2 separate regions of the Homo sapiens genome follow, and region 2 is linked to region 1. The links are contacts of gene promoters, found by promoter capture Hi-C in blood cells and fetal thymus (Javierre and others, 2016). All regions are on one chromosome and are shown on one strand. Each heading gives the region's core, a stretch centred on a gene start or on the middle of the fragment in contact. The rest is flanking DNA. Distances are from core to core; before and after follow the strand shown.

Region 1 (2,986 bases), core at 330-2,829:
CTGCTACTCAGCAGCAGGGATCTAAAGGAATAAATAGATTCCCAGCTGCTGAGAGAAAATGTCTTACTAAAAGCAAAGCAAAATTCTCATTAATGAAAAATCAACCATGAAAGAAGAAAAACTGTATATCTCATAATCCCGGGAAATGGCCAAATCCATTTTGGTTAATGCAGATTCAACAAAATAGTGGAAGAGAACAGAGCAAAGCAGTTTCATCTGCCAGTAGCTGGGGGAAACATCGTTATTGGAGAAATCACAAACAACAACAATGCTTCTAATCTGTAGAGCCAAAAGAAATATGAACTCTCCAGTAAAAGATATCAGGTAAAGGCTCTAGTTGATAAATGCTCTCTCATTCATAATCAAGACACATCAGATATGATAGGCTGTAACCTGAATTTCCCGAGATCAAATTCAATGGCTAATCCAAACCCTGTGTTTTCCTGATCAGATAATCTCTCTGAAGTCACAGTACTTGCATTCATTCAAAACCAGCATTAAGCTTCTACTACGTCAGACACCAGGAATACAAAAACTAATAAGAAACAGTCTCTACCCACATAGAACTTAGTTCGCGTACCATGCCTCATCTTAAACCCCAAAGCTCTTGCTTTAAGATATCTTCTTAGATGGGTCAAGTGTCCTCAGGGGAAAAGCAATAATGGCCCTTCACCTTGAGTTACTGTGAGGCAAGCTAAAATAAAAATAAAAATAAATCATACCTCTTATCCTCAAAAGCAGTCACCACATCCTCCCAAGTGGAACAGAAGAATAATCTTAGCCTATACTACCGGTTAGTGTTCAGGGAAGTGGCAGGGGACAAGACAAGCAATAGAAGGGATGTGACAGCTGTACCACTAACGCATTCAAAGTGTGATAAAAAGAACCTGCTACTAAGCATACTGTAGCGTTACGGTGCGAGGAGGAGGAAAAGAATGAGAGGCTGCCCACCATTCACAGGCACCAACCATCCGCGGTCTTCTAACTCGTCCACTCTCACTAGAGAACCCCAGTCACTGTTTAATAGGATCTGAGCCTGCAGTCCAACAACATTGTCACATGGCTACCAGAATGGAGAGCTAATCGTCCCTTGCAGGAGCTTGGGGGAAAACAAGAAAGTGGAAAGAACTCAAGTGATTGTTAAGTGATTGCCAAAATAATAGACCCCCAAAGCACGGACGGGATGTAAAGTTTGGGTGAGACGGTCACCGGACGTCCACTGGAAGGGTGCGGGGACCTCTACGCCGACACCCCGCCTCCCCGCCTCAGTCCGCGCACTCACCGCGCACGCAGAGCAGTGACATGGCCGAGGATCGGGCAAGCCTCTGCCGCGCCCCAGCCGCGCCGGACCGCTCCCTCTTTCCTCTCAGCAGGTGCCGCGACTGCTCTCGTTACCGGCCCCACGGGTCTGGCAGCTCCTCATGGTCCCGGTCGCAGGTAGCGTCCCGCCGCTGCCTCGGACCCGCCCCAAATCTCACCGTCTGAGCGAACTCCGGGTAGCGGTGAGTACCGGCCGGCAGGCTGGGGACTGGGCGCGGCACAGCGACGCCATCGCTGGGAGGTAGGAGCTGCCGGGACTCCCTCCCGTCATTCCACCCGGGATCCGCGCGAGCGCCTGGGCGGAGCCAACCCGTGGTGCCCCGCCCCCCAGCCAATTAACTCACGCCCAGTCCACCGACCCCGCCCCCCCCCGCGAGCACGTAGGAGGCGGGGTCCCCTTCCTCCTTTCTTTCTTGCGATCCTGAAGGAAGCTCCGCCCACTAATCAGGCTTACTGCAGGGAGCAAGGGGTTGACCCTCAGTTGTGTGACGCGAGAATGGAAGCCCTCTGTTCCTCCTGCATGAGCGGGGCTTCCACCCAAGAACAGATTCTTTTCATTGAAGGATTTCCACTGGACTTTCTTAGAGTCTAGCGGTCATAGCTGACAGCCTGTAATTTTAAGTTAACGAAGTCGCACCGCACAGCAAAGTTAAGTTTTGTTTAGCAACTAGGGCAAAAGACAAAACTGAGTGGGCATAAAGTATGTCTGGAGACCTCAGTTCTTATCTAGACCGTTTTTTATGCTCATCATTGTATCTCCAATGTCTGGAATAGTGCCTAGTGTATGGTAATCAGTCCGTAAATATTTACTGAATGAAGGATGGTAACCACGGAGGGATTGTGAGTGGAGATACCTCTGATCTTTGACAAATCTCCTATCCATGCTTGGTACCAACATGAGCTAACTCCATGGCTCAAACCAACAGGACAATTTGCTAAGGTCTAGGAGCACCCCCTCCAGAGAATCCCTGATCTCCCAAAATTTGGTCGAGATCTAAAGTTCATTTTGTTGTACAACTCCCTCTATTATTATTATTATTATTATTATTATTATTATTATTTTGGAGTTTTACTTGCTTCCAACAAGGAAGGCAAGTTTTCCTGCTTCCATGACGAGGGAAGGCAGGTAACTCTTTTATGGAGTTTGAGCTCACTTCCAACAGGGAAGATGAGGGGTTTTTTTCCTACTTCTGGGATGGTAGACAGCCGTTTTCAGCCTGAGACGCACCCCTAGGTAAGTAGCTGAATAGGGATTTTTGTCTTGGCTAAAGTTAACAACCAGCTGGTCTTAATTTCTGCTTACCATTAGAGTGCTCAGTGATCATATTGTTGGGTTTTTTTTTATTTTGTTTGTCTTTTTCCCATTGACCAACTCTACTTCACTTGGTCAAATCCAAGTGAGAATTCCAAATTATGGGTAACAAGGCCTATCTAATTTGAGTAAAATTCCTCACAGCTGCAAAAGAAAAAACAAACAGAAAACAAAAAACCATGTATTTGGTTTCTGTGTTTGCTTCCTGGTCTTAAAAATTAAACTGTTCTTAGGCCGGGCGCGGTGGCTCACACCTGTAATCCTAGCACTTTGGGAGGCCGAGGCGGGCGGATCACGAGGTCAGGAGTTCAAGGCCAGCCTGGCCAACATAGTGAAACCCTGTCTCTACTGAAA
Region 2 (3,031 bases), core at 149-2,648, 260 kb before region 1:
TTGCTGTATCTCAAGAGGTTTTAATAATCTGTGTCACTACTGTCATTCATTTAAAAGAATTTTTAAATTTCCATCTTGATTTCATTGTTAACTCAAAAATAATTCAGGAGCAGATTGTTTAATTTCCATGTATTTGTATAGTTTTGAGGGTTTCTTTTGCAGTTAATTTCTACTTTTATTCCACTGTGGTCTGAGAAAATACTTGATATAATTTTGATGTTTATAAATTTATTAAGACTTGTTTTGTGGCCTATCATATGGTCTATCTTGGAGAATGTTAAATGTATTGATGAGAAGAATGTATATTGTGCATATCTTGGATAGAACGTTCTGTAAATATCTGTTAGGTCCATTTGTTTGAGAGTGTCATTTAAAGTCAATTTTTTTTGTTGTTGTTGACTTTGTCTTGATGATCTCTCTAGCACTGTCAGTGGAATACTGAAGTTCCCCACTATTATTATGTTGCTATCCATCTCATTTAGTAGGTCTAGCGGTAACTGTTTTACGAACCTGGGAGCTCCAGCGTTAGGTGCATATAAATTTAGGATTGTAATACCTTCTCGTTGGATTGAGCCTTATATCATTGTATAATTACCTTGTCTTTTTTTCACTGTTGTTGCTTTAAGGTCTATTTTATTTTAGATAAGAATAGCCACTCCTGCTTGCTTTTGGTTTCCATTTACATGGAGTATCTTTTTCTACCCCTTTACCTTGAGTTTATATAAATCCTTACATGTTAGGTGAATCTCTTGCAGACAGCAGATATTTGGTTTGTGATTTTTTTAATCCATTCTGCCAATCTGTATCATTTAAGTGGAGCATTTAAGCAATTTATATGTGACATTAATATTGAGAGGTGAGGTACTGTTCCATTCATCATGTTGTTATCTAGATACTTTGTATTTTTCATTGTGTTATTGTTTCATAGGTTTTGTTAGTTTTATGCTTTCCAGAGGTCCTATTTTGCTGCCTATCAAGCTTTTGTTTCAAGATTTAGAACTCTTTTTAGAATTTCTTGTAGGGCTGGTATGGTAGTGACAAATTCCCTCATCATTTGTCTGAAAATGACTTTATTTCTCCTTCATTTATGAAACTTAATTTTGCTAGATACAAAATTCTTGGCTGACAGTTACTCTGTTTAAGGAGGCTAAAGATAGGACCCCAATCCCTTCTGGCTTGTAAGGTTTCTGCTGAGAAGTCTTCTGTTAGTCTGATGGGTTTTCCTTTACAGGTTAACTGATGGTTTTGTCTCACTGCTCTTAGAATTCTTTCCTTCACATCGACTTTAGATAGCCTGATGACTATATGCTTGGTAATGTCCTTTTTGCAAGGAATCTCCCAGGATTTCTTTACGCTTCTTGTATTTGGATATCTAAATCTCTAGCAAGGTCAGAGAAGTTTTCCTCATTTATTCCTTCAAATAAGTTTTCCAAACTTTTTGCTTTTTCTTCTCCTTCAGGAACATCAATTATTATTAGGTTTGGCCATTTTACTTAATTCCATATTTTTGGAGACTTTGTTCATTTATTTTTATTCTTTTTTATTTTTTCTGATTGGGTTAATTTGAAAGCCTTGTCTTCAAGCTCTGAAATTCTTTCTTCTGGTTGTTCTAGTCTATTTTTAAATCTTTCCATTGCATTTTGTAATTCCCTAAATGTGTCTTTCATTTATGGAAGTTCTGATTAGCTATTCTTCAAGATCTCTATCTCTTTAGAAAATTTTTCATTCATATCCTGAATTTTTTTTTTTTAATTTCTTTGTGTTGGCTTTCACCTTTCTCTGGTATCTCCTTGTACTCAAGGAAATAATCAAAGCTTAATAATCAACCATTCGAATTCTTTATCTGGTATTTCAAATATTTCATCTTGGCTGGGTGTGGTGGCTCACACCTGTAATCCCAGCACTTTGGGAGGCCAAGGCGGGTGGATCACCTGAGGTCAAGAGTTCGAGACCAGCCTGGCCAACATGGTGAAACCTTGTCTCTACTAAAAATACACACACAAAAATAGCTGGGAGTGGTGGCACACACCTGTAGTCCCAGCTACTTGGGGAGGCTGAGGCAGGAGAATCGCTTGAACCCAGGAGGCGGAGGTTGCAGTGAGCCAAGATCACACCACTGCACTCTAGCTTGGGTGACAGAGGGAGACCCCATCACAAAAGAAAAAAAAAAATTCATCTTTGTTTGGATCCATCACTGGAGAGCTAATGTGATCTTTTGGGGGTGCTACAGAACCCTGTTTTGCCATGTTACCAGAATTATTTTTCTGGTTCCTTCTCTTTTGGGTAGACCATTTCTTCTAGTTATTATAGAATTATTTTGATTGTGTTTTTTAAAAATTTCTTTTTACCCTCTTAAGGATCTGACTTTAATGTTTACTGTAGCCTAATTCGGCTCTTGGTGCTTTCAGGGGTGAAGATTCTACGTAAGTTCCTTGGTTACTGGCAGTCTTTGTATGATGGCCTTCTCAGATGCTAGTTTGTAGTAACAATGTGCACAGTATGTGCGCAAGTTTACTGTCTCACAGGGGGTTGGAACAGCAGAGTTCTCTTGAAGCTTACTTATTTCATTCCCCTGTGGTATACACCTTTTTGTTTACTTATTTTTCCCTAGTATTTTATTTACTGGTTGAACAGTCTGGGCTTCAGGCCAGCAGAGGAGGTATCCCTGTGTAGAAACCAGTTGTGGCTGAAGCAGGTGGGTAAATGCAGTACCCAATGGTGGGCAGAGGTCCCAAGTTTGTCAGAGGTGGCTGGGGGAGCTCTCAGTGAGAAACACTGAGGTTTTATCAGGCAGAAGGGTGGGAGCCACCTCAGCTCCCCTGCCAGGCCAGCAGGACACACTCCTGACTGTGTTCTAGCTATTCAGATCAGACAGGTACCTCTTTTCATCTGCAGGAATGTTGATGTTCCAAGTAAGGAAGAATTGTGACTCTACCTCTTGTGCAAGCCTGAACCTGGAGAGTGCTCCTCCTATGGGGATACAGTCACCTTGAAGTGTTCCAGAAATGCTATGCATAGATGCACTCACACC

What was found. The method cuts DNA at HindIII sites, captures the fragments that hold promoters and counts their contacts. A CHiCAGO score of 5 or more calls a contact.
Region 2: a contact is called between a fragment that was not itself captured here and the fragment with the promoter of UNC13B in region 1, in 1 of 17 cell types (M2 macrophages). The highest score is 6.6, in M2 macrophages.

The regions. Positions count from the first base shown.
Region 1 is chr9:35,160,602-35,163,587 of GRCh38, reverse strand. UNC13B (unc-13 homolog B) reads right to left here and starts at 1,579. Exons shown (of 40, transcript NM_001371189.2): 1 at 1,283-1,579. The coding sequence starts at 1,304. RefSeq lists a silencer at 1,584-1,713. The HindIII fragment of the contact is 6,795 bases long and covers 505-2,986 here.
Region 2 is chr9:35,416,657-35,419,687 of GRCh38, reverse strand. It overlaps the pseudogene ATP8B5P. Among named protein-coding and RNA genes, the nearest start is that of RUSC2, 72 kb to the left of the region's middle. The HindIII fragment of the contact is 836 bases long and covers 981-1,816 here.